Linked DNA regions of Homo sapiens: region 2 is linked to region 1. Evidence: promoter capture Hi-C in 16 types of primary human blood cells and fetal thymus (Javierre and others, 2016). All regions are on one chromosome and are shown on one strand. Each heading gives the region's core, a stretch centred on a gene start or on the middle of the fragment in contact. The rest is flanking DNA. Distances are from core to core; before and after follow the strand shown. Region 1 holds the start of XRN2 (5'-3' exoribonuclease 2). Region 2 overlaps LINC01727 (long intergenic non-protein coding RNA 1727).

Region 1 (7,152 bases), core at 4,653-7,152:
AAAACACCCAGTGCGGCCCTCCTGCCCTGTCTTCCCTTTTGGTAGTGACTGTGGTGGCCACGTTGAGCTGGCAGAATCCCAGGATGAAAACAGCAGGATGCCCAAGTCATCACATGGAAGACCGCTCTGGAGAGTAGCCTGATACCACATAAACTAAGCTAATGAGGTTTCAGGCATTACTTGTTACTACAGCAAAGCCTACCTTATCCTGGAATATTAGTGGAAAAAGAATGTCCATAAATGAAATAGGAAATAATGTAAGACACAATACTATGTACGAAAAGAGTCAGGAGTGATGTGGAAGATGGGAGTGGGCAAGAGTCAGTTTGGGCTCATGTGCTGGGACAGACTTTATGGAGAAGAGGGGAAGAGATAATTTGAATGAGTAGAATTTGAGTTGTAAAAAAGGTGGTGGGAAGACTATGAGTCTCAGCAAAGTGGGAATGAGCAGGAAATATAAGTGAGGGAAAATGAAGACAGAGTCAATATGAGAAAGTTAACACCGTAACAGTGTGGTGGCATGCCTGTAGTCCAAGCTACTTGAGAGGCTGAGGTGGGAGGATTGCTTGAGTCTGGGAGATGGAGGTTGCATTGCGCCACTACACTTCCACCTGGGTTACAGAGAAAGATCCTGTCTGAAAAAGAAAAAAGAATGAACGCACGAGAGAAAGAAAAAGAAAGAAAGAAGGAAATAAAGAAAGAAACAGAGAGAGAAAGAGAAAGAGAGAGAGAGGAAGGAAGGAAGGAAGGAAAGAAGGAAGAAAAGAAAGTTAATACTAGCTGGGGAGTGGCAAAATGAGGCCTGTTAGATTATTAAATTGTCCAAAATAAGTGGAACATGCTAATAAAATTGTGAGGCTTCTTCAAAGCAAACAGTGTGGAGCACAACAGATAGCCATACAATGGTGATCACTTCCTGGTTCTTAGCAAGTTTTGGCCTGTGCACTGGGCATGGTATCACTGAATTTTCACAGAAAACCTATGAAGTCTATGATCCTCATTTTACAGATGAAGAAACTGAAGCTTAGAGAGGTGAAGCATCTTGAAAATGCATTAGTCAGAATTCTCCTGAAAAACAGGACCAATAGGATGTGAGAAGGTTTTATTTGAAGAAATTGGCTCACACGATTGTGGGGGCTTGATGAGTCCAAAATCTGATGGGGTAGGCCAGCAGGCTGGAGACCCAGGGAAGAGGTGCATCTGCTGGCAGAATCCATTCTTGCTCAGGGAAGGTCAGTCTCAGGGGCTGTAGTGCTGCAGTGTCCACTTTCAGGTGGTGCCTGCACATCATGCAGAACCACCTGTAAACCAGCCCTGAGCTTTCTCTTCTCTACATTAAACCCAAGTAGGCCTGGCATTTCTCACTCACTCACTGTGGTCTACCTTTTGGTCCATGTTTCAGTCAACCAACCCATCAGTTATAGCACTAACTCCCTGAGTTGCAACATTAAATGCAGAAATCTTGCTCAATCGGCCCCTATCAATATATTCAGCCTGATTCAATTTTATGTTTCTTCCATCTTTATCCCACACCTTTAATTTCCATTCTCACACATATTCCCTGAATTTCTGACTAAATAAGAAAACTCAAGTAGTTCTTTTGGAGTGTAGTATGCCTCATGGATCACATTTCATGCCTCACCTTTTGGGACTGCTAGGACTTGAGTCTAGTTAAAGTTCTAGAAGCCAAGAGGGGTAATGGGGGTGTGTCCTGAGGAGAATCAGCATTGTCTTGCGAGACAACTGTATCAGGTGAGGTCATGATAGATTCCTTAAGCAATGAAAGGTTAGTTCCCTCAGGTGGGGGTGGAGAGGATATATCTACTGGGGTGGAGAAAATGCTTCTACGGGCAAAGATGACTCATTGGAACTTATGAATTCAATGTCCCCAGTGCCATCAAGGTCTTTCCATATGCCCCCATTCCAACTTTCAGGATCCAATTCGTTCCCAATCAATGCCCTCACTTTAGAAGTAGACAACCTGCAAAGTCAAAAATTCAATCTGCACTTTAATTCAGCCACTTACAGGATGTGATTCGGAGTTGATTTTTAACAATCTTGGCTCTGCAGCTATAGGAGATAAGGGTCTCTTTCAGGGCAGAAATAGAAAGTTTCAGGTCACTTATGTTATACTTGAGCTGGGAATTTGAATCCCTGAGCTCATCCTTTTCTTTTCCCACTTTGTCCAGCAACATTAGGGGCAACCAATCTCATTATACTTGTTATTTTGGCAAATATGTTATAAAGTATCATACGCATGGTCACCCAGATCCTGCTTCTTTTTAGTTTTGGTAATATTTTGTGTAATTCTACTACTTCATCATGCCATAGACTATCAAGTGTTTTATTTACTACTGGAAAGTCATTCCTGTTTTTAATCTAATCAGACTAGAGAACCACTTCCAGAAACCTCAGAACCAATTACAAAAATGCATCCCTAAGATTCCGTTCCGCTTGAACCACTTCTAGTACCAGAATCTGTAGCTGTCAGCGTTCTCTAGAGACATGGAATCAACATGTGGGCATATACAAAGACATTTATTATAAGGATTTGGCTCACGTAACTATACAGACTGGCTAATCCAAATCTGCAGTGTAGGCCAGCAGATTCAGGACTCAGGAGGCAGATTACATCTCAAGGCAGTTGGCTAGAGAATTCCCTCTTGCTTGGGGGCCAGACTTTTTGTTCTATTCAGGCCTTCAACTGATGAAATGAGGTCCACTCACATTATGGAGGGCAATCTGCTTTACTCTACTGATTAAAAATGTTTATCTCAACCCAAAATGGCCACAATTACTGTTTTAAATACATCAGGTTATTCACAATGAATTTTGTAAGGATAAAGAAGGAAAGGAATCACTTGGTAGAAGGACCAATAGTAGGCAAAAAAAAACTGAGAATTTTTTTCTATGATAATTACAATGTTAATGGGGCTTAAAAATGAATTGATGAATATTTAAAAACATCCTAGTTTCCACATATTATATATTTTTCATATTGTTTTTCACATTAATGTAATCCAGATACTAGCTGTGGCCTTCCTCTCTCCCTTTGAGATCTGGGCAAAAATGTTTCAAAACCTCTGGGTTCTCTGCCTGTATAAGTCCAAAGTCTGGTTCAGTATTTCTGCTAATTTATTTTCTTTTTTTTTTTTTTTTTTTTTTTAGATAGCTTCTCGCTCTGTCACCCAGGCTGTAGCACAGTGGTGCAATCATAGCTCACTGCAGCCTTAAACTCTTGGGCTCAAGTGATCCTCCTGTCTTAGTCTCCCCATTTGCTAGGATTACAGATGTGAACCACCACACCTGGCCTCCCTGCTAATTTCCAACACTAATAAATTCTCACCTCTTCTGCTTCTAGAGGTCTGCTATGTTGCCCACCCCGTGGTGGTTCCAAACCACAGTGACCCCAACTGGAGACTTTTTATTTGATTTCTACAAGAAAAACCCATACCAAGCCTGAGTCTGACAGGCTTTACTGGACACATTGGGCCAGGGAAAGTGTCACAATACTTAGTCCATATCCTCCTGCCGCCTTTCAAGTTTCTTCTCTCTTTTACCCACTCCTTCTCTGAGTGCCAAAACTCCAATTTTAGTACTTCTATGCAAACCAATTTCACCACCCAGGTGAATTAGCTTGCACTCCCCAAATTTTGTTACTGGACTCTTTCCTTTGTAAGGGATAAGAATTTAGCCCAAGCCAGCTTAGGGCAAAAGGAAACTTTTGGCTGGGAGTGGTGGCTCACACCTGGAATCCCAGCACTTTGGGAGGCCAAGGCGGGCGGATCACAAGGTCAAGAGATTGAGACCATCCTGGCCAACATGGTAAAACCCCATCTCTACTAAAAATACAAAAATTAGCCGGGCGTGGTGGCGCACATTGGTAGTCCCGGCTACTTGGGAGGCTGAGGCAGGAGAATCGCTTGAACCTGGGAGGTGGAGGTTGCAGTGAACCGAGATGGTGCCACTGCACTCCAGCCTGGCAACAGAGTGAGACTCTGTCTTAAAAAAAAAAAAAAAAAAAAATTTGGCTCACAGAATCAAAGGACAGACTTAATCAAACTGCAGGAAGAGAGGGATTTAACTGGAACCAGGGAATTAACCCTGCTTCTCTCATTGCCTACTGGCAACAAGTCCCAATTCTTATCTTTTAGCGTTCACGCACTGGAAAGATGCAGTCTTAAATTTCTTATGGTTCAAAGCTCAAAAATGCTGGTAAGGCTGGGTGCAGTGGCTCACACCTGTAATCCCAGCACTCTGGAAGGCCGAGGTGGGCAGATCACCTGAGGTTAGGAGTTCGAGACCAGCCTGGCCAACATGGTGAAACCCTGTCTCAACTAAAAACACAAAAATCAGCGGGGTGTCATGGCAGGCGCCTCTAATCCCAGCTACTCGGGAGGCTGAGGCAGGAGAATCGCTTGAACCCGGGAGGTGGAGGTTGCAGTGAGCCTGGATCTTGCCACTGCACTCCAGCCTGGATGACTGAGACTCCGTCTGAAAAAACAAAAACAAAACAATAAACCCTCCCAACCCGCCAAAATGCTGGTTAAGGATTCTAAATGGCTCAACTTGGCCAGCTGTCTATCCCTGAACTGCCTATGGTGTACATGTTCCTATAACAGCACCTCCCAGGGAAACCAGAGGGGCTGCTTCCAGGTAAAAGGAGGAATTTCACCATAGACATAATACTTTGGAATAGTTTTGGCTATCCTTAAGTAAAACACGGGATGACTATTTCTCTAATTTCCACACTAGTAGTTTAAACAAAGTAGTCATCAGACCACAGAGGAGGGGGCAATAAATACTGCCTGTGAGGTAACTCGGCGAAATACTTTCACAGAGGCCTCATGAGGTGAGCATTTAGCATCGTGTGTGATGTGTGTCAAACCAAGAGGGGATTCAGGGAGACTTCCAGGCTTGAGCAAACGGACAAATATACCTCCTCTTCCAGACCTCTCCTTTCATATGGAAAAAATTCGTTTGGGACCACCAGAAAACAAAAGATAAAAGTATCGTGTTAGAACAAGGATGGATTAAAAATGACCTTTGCTTGAACTGAAACAGAAGCTATGTGCATAAGTGACTTAACTCCTCTGTAACTTGGCTTTCTTATCATTTACACGAGGGTGCTAACAGTACCCTCACAAGGTTCAAGTGAAGATTACATAGGACAATCCCTTAGTCAATGTCTTGGTACACTGTAAAGGCTCAGTAAATGCTGGAAAATCATATTAGCAACTATTTTATACCCGTAATTGTAGCTGGAAGATTGTATTGGATGCTAAATACCGGCTAGATTCCATTCGGTAACTATCATAATTATTTATTTGCATAACAATCAAATTATTGGTGCAAAGCAGCCATTATTACTGTAAAATGCTTTAAAATGCTCCTTTTGATAGTCCAGGTACGTACTGCAGCACAAAACTAGGAGAAACCAGGAAATGGAAGTAACGAGTAAGTTTGGATGCTTCGATTCTACCCTAGATTGAGACGGGTGAGCATAGAGGCAAAAAAAGACATTTTCTTCCAAACAAGAGGTGACCAAACGGGCAAGGGAGACCTCCTCCCGGGCATGCAGAGCGCAGCGATTCTGTGCCCAGGGAGCCGGAGGGCTGGGGCTGGGAGATCCCGGCGGAGCCCCGGCAGAGCAGTCGCCCGTGAGCCCCCGCAACTCAGACGCGCTCGGCCTCGCGCTCCGGGGCTGGGACCACCGAGGGCGAGCTGCAGCCTTCGCCACCCGGTCCGCCGCCGGACTCCGCCTCCCACAAACAGCCCGGCAAGGCCCTTTTCCGCCGCTCCCTCATCCAGCGAAGCCTCCTTCCCAGCTTCCCCGGCGGCGGCGCCGTGACGTCACTTCCGTTCTCCAGCGCGCACGTGGGAGGAAGTGCTGGTGCCCTCTGCCGCTGCTCCCGTCTCTTTGGTTACGCTCGTCAGCCGGTCGGCCGCCGCCTCCAGCCGTGTGCCGCTATGGGAGTCCCGGCGTTCTTCCGCTGGCTCAGCCGCAAGTACCCGTCCATCATAGTCAACTGCGTGGAAGAGAAGGTGAGGAGGCGCCAGGCGGCCGCCACACTCGAGCCCGGGCCCCCGGCACGTCTAGGCCGCGGCCCATGGGCTCCGCCGCCTGCCCCCGGGGAGCCTTGCCGGAGCTCGCGCCCTGCTGCCAGCCTCGCGAGCAGTCGCAGCCCCACACGCGATGGGACGCGGGCTGTGGGATTCAGCACCCCGGGGGCGAGGAATTCAGGACCCTCGGCGGGGCAAGGGCCTATAGGGTTCCGAACTCGCAGGAGGGTCGCTCCTCCCCTACTCGCTTTTTCCCGGCACCGGAAGGCCCCGCCCACTGCTTTGTTTCCTCTCCAGACCGCGCATTTTGGGTCTCGGAAGAGGTTCAGAGGCTGTTGTTGAGCAATGCATGCCAGGTCAGCTGAGCTAGCGGGTTATGGATGCACGGATTCGGAGGCCAGCTTTTTGACAACCTTGTAAAGGAATCCCTGGCGGCGACCTTTTCGTTGTTTACCAATTGTGCCGGAAAGGTTTTCTCCTAGTGTTCAGGACCATTTGTTGTTCTGGTTAGATTGGACGCTGAAAGCAGTATGTCAGGTCCAGGATGAGCGCTATAGAATTCTGAGAAGTTACCCTTCTCTGTGTGCCCTGACTACTGAACGGGGTGGGTGCTTGTTGAAAATTTCAAGATTACTGGATGTACTTGAGCAGTACAATTTTTGTTGTTAGTTAATACGTAAGTAGATTTTTGGCCATTATTGAGTTTTGTTTTTATTGTTTTCGTCATTCCATGCGGATTCGATTTTGTGCTCTTAATTAGAATTTCTGGATTGGAAACGTTCAGAGGCACATCACGCGTACCTCACTCCTTAGTTTTTGAAGGCAGTGCTTGCCTGTCACTGTGAACTTATTTCTGCTTTTTTTTTTTTTTTTAACTTTCTTGGCTTCTATCCAAGGAGGAACCAAAAGCCTTGTCTTAGTGACATTCCCACTATTTCTTGTTTTTTTCAAAAAGCAACTGCTAAATTGAATACTTGTTTCCTTTGTAAAATTTTAATCGAACTTTATTGAACTTTACTTGCACGTGGGTTAAACAAAAAGCAACAGTTCTTGCTCTACCCCTTCTCATCCCATTTCTCCACCTTTAAC
Region 2 (7,152 bases), core at 1,557-4,056, 270 kb after region 1:
CTCGATGCCAGTTCCACCTTCCACACCGGAGCAGCGTCCCGCAGACCAGGGCTGGTGGGCGAAACTGGTGGGCAAAATGGGGTGGGCTGGATAAAGGACTCCCACCCCAAATGGCTGCAGGGGCCTATTTGAGGGAGTGGAGAGAGAAGGGTTGCGGGCTTCCAGCCAAGCTTTACCCTCACTGAAAGTTCAGGTTCAGGGCCCAGTCCCCCAGCGTGAAAAAGGGACCCTTATAAAGAGGTAAAGGGGCTTCCTTCAAATCCCCTGCACCCGCGCCCCCTCCCTCAAAGATAATCCTGGGAAATATTTAGCGATCTCCAGTGCCCTCTAGTGGCAGATACTTGTCATGCCAGGCACCAAAAGATGGTTAATAATTTTTATTGTTTAAAAACATCACACAAGCCCATGCAGGTTCATACAGTAACAATCTCAAGCTTTCCTGCATTTCCTTTTATCATCCCGATCTTACTACACCCCTAGAGAACATTTACATTCCTTTCCTATGCATTTACAAATGATATATATGTATATTATATATTCGTTTCTATATGTTACACAGAGATGTAGACATGTAGAAATATACATTACATGTGCACATATGAAGTGTATGACTTATAAATAAGCATAAAATATATTTTGTATGGCATATATGTGTATATATTTTATATTTACAAATGTAAAAATATTTTAAAACTTTATATAAATATATAAAAATATAATACATTTAATTCTATGCTTTATACAATATGTTTATATAAAGTTTATGCTTATATTGATAATATATTTTTATGTACTATATAAAGTCTGAAAATATATTGTATAAGGTTTATTTTTATTTTTATTTATTTATTTTTGAGACAGGGTCTTGCTCTGTTGCCCAGGCTGGAGTGCAATGGCACAGTTCACTGCAGCCCCGAACTCCTGGGCTCAAGGGATCCCCCCACCTGAGCCTCCGAAGTAGCTAGGACTACAGGTGCAAGTTGCCATGCCTGGCTAATTTTTTGTAGAGACAGGATCTCCCTGCGATGCTCAGGCTAGTCTTGAACTACTGGGTTCAAGCAATCCTCCTGTCTTGGCCTCCCAAAGTGCTTGAATTACAGGTGTGAGCCACACACCCGGCCTGAGGTTTTTAAACACAAAGTGATCTGACTGTTTTACCGCTGCATGCTGTTGTGCAGTGTGGAAATAATCTGATTTGTTTGATTTTTCTCCCCTACAGATGGACATTTAGATGCCTTTCATTTTTCTTCCATTGCAAGAATACTTTGTACATATATGTGAGTTTTTCTATAAGAAACACTTCCAGCTTTTCATTTAAGTCAGAGACTCAAATCTGAAATGCAAAAGCTTGTAAAACTGTGAAGTGTTAAAAATCATCCCGCCAAAGGAGTGAGGTGAAGGGAAGTTTTATAAAATTGGAATGGAAGGAAAAGGCTGGACAGGAGTGGGATGGCGTGGCTGAGAGGGAGATAGGAGGCTGGGTATGGATGAGGAGTGGGAAGTGTGGGATGGCGTGGCTGAGAGGGAGATAGGAGGCTGGATATGGATGAGGAGTGGGAAGTGTGGGATGGCGTGGCTGAGAGGGAGATAGGAGGCTGGGTATGGGTGAGGAGTGGGAATTGGGAACACCGTTTTCACCTAAAGCTGTATTCAGGGCCTGGGGTTTTTGTTTTTGTATTTATTTAGAAAATAGATAAAACTTCTATCTGGTTCAAAATTCGACAACAACAGAAAGGTGTTAGATCTCATCTTCCTTATTCTTCTGTCTTCCAGCCGCTCCGTTCTCCCCAGCAGAGCCAACTAAAGTAATCAGCGTCTTCTGTATCCTTCCACAGATAGTACATGCATAAGCAAAAAGAAAAAAAAAAGTTTCTTTCTCTTTCTCATTTTCCCTTCAAAAACCACCAATAATTGTACCTGACATACATAGCCTGCCCCTTTTCTTCATTAAATAATGGGAGATTATGTCATTAGGAAGAAACAGATTTCTTCATTCTCTCTGCCTGGCATTCCATTATGTGGATGAGGTGTTATTTATTTAAGCAGTCCGCACCTGAAGGACATCTTGGTTGGTTCCAATCTTTGCTATGACAACAGTGCCACAATGAGTAGCCTTGTACAACTGTCATTATGTGCATGTGTGGGGACACATGTAGGATACAGTCCTGGTAGTGGAATTCCTGTCTCAGAGGGTTTTTTAAAAAGAACTGCAAGTTGCCGTCTGTGGAAGCCTTGCCAGTTTGTACCCTTGTGTGTTCTGCTTCACCTCTACCAGCACCGGAGTCACTGAGCGTTATGTTATTTGCCAACTGGATAAGTGAAAAATGGTATCTCAGGGCACGTTATGGGACATGTTAAAGTATAAGTGCAGCCAAATATCTTTTCAAACACTGATGAGGGGCCCTGGAGTTTTAGTGCCTTTCTTTAGAGGAATTTTAGGTGCTGGTCTTACTGACTCGGAGCCTCTTCCTCAATCTGCATCGCCTTAGCTGACCCCAGTGCACTTTAGGGCATTACGTGGATTTGGGGTTTTCTCATCCTGCTCTCCTTCCTTTGGGAGTGGCCTCCAAGGCAGCTGTCTTCCCATTCCCCTTGCTTCCCTCCTATCTCCGTCTCAGCCACGCCATCCCACTCCTGTCCACAAGCCGGGTGCATGAGCCATTCCAGAGGGACTTTACCTTGCTGGAATAAGCGTGGTAAGGGGCCTGGGTGTTGTGGTCCTCCCTCCTTGGGCTCTGGTGCTCTGGTTCCCAGACTGTGACCCACGATCCTCTCGCGTCCAATGTGCGTGACCTCTCCGTCCGATAGCACAAGCAATTCTCAAACAGCCACTTGAGCTGGACGCCCCCGGACATGCCCTGCACTTTTCCAGCTTTACATCCTGGCCTGTGTTGCCCCCTCCATGTGTGATGCCCTCCTTGAGTCCGGCATGGGTGCACGGCTGCCCGCTCCAGCAGGTCAACCCTCGGGCCCATGAACTTCCCCTACACAAGCTCTTGTGGCACCAACTGTCTTCCTAGGTGGTGGCCACACCAGGAAACATTTCCCAGCCTCTCATTGCTCTTGAAAATTGTATCATCAAATAGCAGCACATGTTAAACAGTTAAGAAGAAAATTAACATGCAAAATTAACAGAAGAAGAAAGAGAAAATGCAATCTGCCCAAAGCTGTTCTTGACAATTTTTGGAGTGATTTAATGTTATTTTAAGTTTTATGAAGAAAGTACAATCTTATCAATATTTGTATCTTGCTATTTCATATTCACTGCAATTTAATATGTAAAAGTTACCACAGGGACACTAAGTGGTAAAGAGTTAATGGTCTTCCCTGATTCCCACTGCCTGAGGCCAAATTTCCATCCACGCCAAGCATGCTTTTCAGCATCTCCACCTTCAACTGCTGTTATCTGTCTGCCCTAGCTTCTTCCAGCGCCCCAGGGAAAAAGCTGCATCACATTTTGGAGGGAAATAAAGAAAGAGAACTAAAGACCTATTGGATTTCAGCCTTTGGTTGGTGGTTAATAACCTAGATAGCTCAGGCATTTTCCAGGCTGGAGTGCAGTGGTGCCATCATAGCTTACTGCAGCCTCGAATGCCTGGGCTCAAGCAATCCTCCTGCCTCAGCCTCCTAAGTTGCCTAGTTAATTTAAAAAATATTTTGTAAAGACAGGGGCTTCACTATGTTGCCCAGGCTGGTCCCAAACTCTTAGCCTCAGGAGATCCTCCTGCCTTGGTATCCCAAAGTGTTAGGGTTATAGGCCTGAGCCACTACACTTGGCCCAAGAATTTAATTAAAGAGGTGGGATGAGCAAAGAGTTCCTGGAGGGAAGCTAGCTTTCACCTGCCTTCCTGCTACCTGGAAGGTGCTGTTTATGAATTCAGGATTCATCTGTCCACATTGATGGTTTTCTTAGCTTGTGAGGTTACTGAAACACCATTATTACAGATAGAAAACTTTCCCCAGTGGCCCCTTGAGACAGGTTGAATAATGTCACTTAATCTCTATAACCTTCCTCTTAAATAGGCATGGTCACTCTCTCTTTTAATGATGAGAAAAACGGGAGAAGAGAAGTCCATAGAAGGATGGAAACTTGGCCTCAGGCGGTGGGGCTCAGGCCCCTGCTCTGTTCTGGTTCCATGCACTTAGTGGATGGGAAGACCACTAACTCTTTACCACTTAGTGTCACTGTGGCAGCTTTTACACATTGAATTGCAGTGAATATGAAATAGCAAGATACAAATATTAATACAATTGCACTTTCTGCATAAAGCTTAAAATAAAGTGAAGTCACTCAAAAAAAGGTCAAGAACAGCTTTGGGGCAGATACCTTCCTTCCTTCCTTCCTTCCTTCCTTCCTTCCTTCCTTCCTTCCTTCCTTCCTTCCTTCCTTCCTTCCTTCCTTCCTTCCTATGGAGATATTGTTACAGGGAGGCCTATGGGATCCTGCCTAACTAGTTTTGGAGGCAAATGCTATGTGGGGGCTTGTAGGAGGCAGCGCTGTGCTTGCTGGAGTTAAGCTCTAACCTGAGTTGGGTTTGCATCCAGCTGCTGGTTGGTCCAGGGAGGTCTCCAGCTGCTGCTTGGAAACCAACAAAAACAGTAGTGAGTTCCAGAAACGTTGGAGTAAGGTGGTGACTTGGTGATAAAAAGTATTTCTGGAGGAAAGGGAAAACACTCCCATTTTATTATCTGTGAAATCTGGTGGCCAATGAAACCACTTCCCACTGACTTGGGTGGGGAAGGCAGATACTTAGATTCACGTTCCCAAAGGAGAACATTATGCAATGGAAGATGTAGCTTCACAGTATATCCCACTCTGTCAGGACTCTGTGCTGCATATAAACTCTGATGTGAAAAGCATTCTTCCTCCCTGGGATTGTGCAGTTCCCAGGCTGGGCAGCTGTATACTCTAGCCCTGGATAGGTTGATTTGTTTAAGGAAGGCTGTTTGCTAGCAGGTATACAGAGATAATGCATTTTATATGCAGAGTTAGTCTCTTTTAAAAAGAGAAAGCTGAAAAAGCCTGAAGACATAAAAAACAATCTATTCACTCCTGCGCCTCTCCCTTCTGCAGACACAGAACTTCCCTGGCAGCTCTGATCTGGGGGCTTCCTGTAGGTGCAAAGACCTGGTTCTTCAGACTCCATCCATGGAAGGAGGGAACACCAGTCACGGGGAGGTGGGCTCTGCACTGGGTTCCAGACACAGCAAAACAGGGCCTGGCATAGGTAGGAAGGGGAAAAGGAGGCCCTAGTCAAAGGGCAGGGCAGCCTCAAAGTTGACCCCAAGGCTGGGACCAGGGGGTACTTCTGCTCCTTTCTGTACCCAGAGTCAAAAGAAACAGTTCATTCCTCTTAACCCTTTCATTGAATCCTCCCCGCAACTTGGCACCCCTGAAACCACATAGAGAAATCACTTCTGTTGTAAACCCTTTCTTGGTGGCCCCCTGTGGCAGCAATGACTTAAAGCCTCATCACTCATGATAGTTGTGTTCTATAAAGCTGCCACGAACACTGAACTAGTAGACGCTGAATCGTTGCTCCTAGGAGAAGCATAGGGTTAGATTCCTGCTGGCCTCTGGTCATGTTTTGTCAGCTGATCGGTACATAACATCATTCTATGTATGTTTCTGTTGACAGATGCCTTGTTGGTGGTATAGTGTGAATCCATTAGCACTGAACTCAGGACCAGCAATGGTGTGACTCAGGCCTGAAGGAAGCTTTTCTAGCACATGGATTTCCTCTGTAAGGCACCTCACAGCCTCTCGTGCCTGGGAACTCTAGCCAGCACTGTAGCACGATGCCTAGGGCCATTATAAATGTGAAATCACCAAAGAAACCCCACAAAAATGTGAAAATCACGGCACTAAATAGACCACAAAAAGGATGCTTGTTTGACTGCAAACAAGTATGAGAACTGGAACCAGAAAGTAGGATGTCATCTTGTTCTTCCTTAGCACTGGATGACTCAAATTTCTCTCCACTCTGCCAGTGTCTTTGAATGACCAGGAAATTGCTGGGAATATTGATTTTGGGATAACAAATAAATTTTATCGACTAGCTGAATTTGCAAATATGGAGTCCACAAATAATAAGGGTTGTTTGCATCTTGAGTTAATTGCCATTTAAAAACAATGTCCTTTTCCAGTTTGTTCATTCATCGTGGTCCAGGTCTCAAAAGTGATTCCTCCCAGGGGTCAGGTGGGCAGTGCCAGGGTCTGGTGGTGACTCAGGTGGAACAGAGGTCACTGGCCTTGTCCAAAGGAGGCTGCAGCTCCTTTCCTCCTGCAAGCTTGGTAGGGGTTGGGGCCTCATCAATTTTTCTTGGGAGGGGCCCATAGTGGCATCTGTGTGAGTGTGGCCAGGGATGTCTCTGGAAGAGGGGGTTGCAGACTGAGATTTTCTGTTTATTTGGAGGGTGAATTTGGGGTGCTGAAGGGCACTGGGGTGTCTAGGGCTTCCTATGTCTTCCCTTAGTGCTACCTCTGGGACTCCATTTTGTCAGAGTTCCTGATATTTCATGAGAAAGCTGGAAATCCAGGTTTTTTTTTTTTTTAATCAGAAATGTCAGGATTTAAAAATATAAGCAGCTAACTAAAAATTCAAAAATCCCTAACCATTGTGCAAGCCAAATGAAATAGGCATAATAAACATGAGCTGCTATGTTCCTAGGTGCCTGGTCAGCTGGGATACAGGTGAGGGGCTGACGGCAGGTGCAGGTGACCCCCTTGCCCACTGCCTGTCCATTCCATGTGTTGTTGCTTGGACCCATTAACATTGTCTGCCTCATATTTCTGTTTGAAGAAAGTTCTGCTACGTGGGTGAGTCTTGTCTATATTGAGAGCAGGGTTGAGCTGCAGTCAGTTATAAAGTCTACCTTCAGTGGGATATTATAAGGGTTCACATGAATTGAATTAACAACATTTTTATATCTGAGGCTACACAATCCTAAAGGAAATGTGACTTCTACAGAGAGAATGAAGATGTTCCTAGCACTTTCAAATATATCGAGCGTTCTCCAATAAGTGTATTTTTTTCATCTTGTGCATCTTGTGTATGAAAGCTTTCTGTGAGGTTATGTCCATGAAAACAAACGCCTTTTTTTCTTTTCCTCATAAAAGCGGAATAATGAAAGATAAGGTTAAGGTTACAC

The links. Contacts are between HindIII fragments. The CHiCAGO score rates a contact against its expected background, and 5 or more counts as called.
Region 2: a fragment that was not itself captured here is called in contact with the fragment with the promoter of XRN2 in region 1 in 1 of 17 cell types (naive CD4 T cells); the score reaches 5.4 in naive CD4 T cells.

The regions. Positions count from the first base shown.
Region 1 is chr20:21,297,429-21,304,580 of GRCh38, forward strand. XRN2 (5'-3' exoribonuclease 2) reads left to right here and starts at 5,903. Exons shown (of 30, transcript NM_012255.5): 1 at 5,903-6,045. The coding sequence starts at 5,971. RefSeq lists a silencer at 5,601-5,730 and an enhancer at 6,451-6,500. The HindIII fragment of the contact is 6,284 bases long and covers 1,022-7,152 here.
Region 2 is chr20:21,571,956-21,579,107 of GRCh38, forward strand. All of the region lies in intron 1 of LINC01727 (long intergenic non-protein coding RNA 1727), which reads left to right. Among named protein-coding and RNA genes, the nearest start is that of LINC01727, 5.5 kb to the left of the region's middle. RefSeq lists an enhancer at 2,297-2,797. The HindIII fragment of the contact is 2,923 bases long and covers 1,346-4,268 here.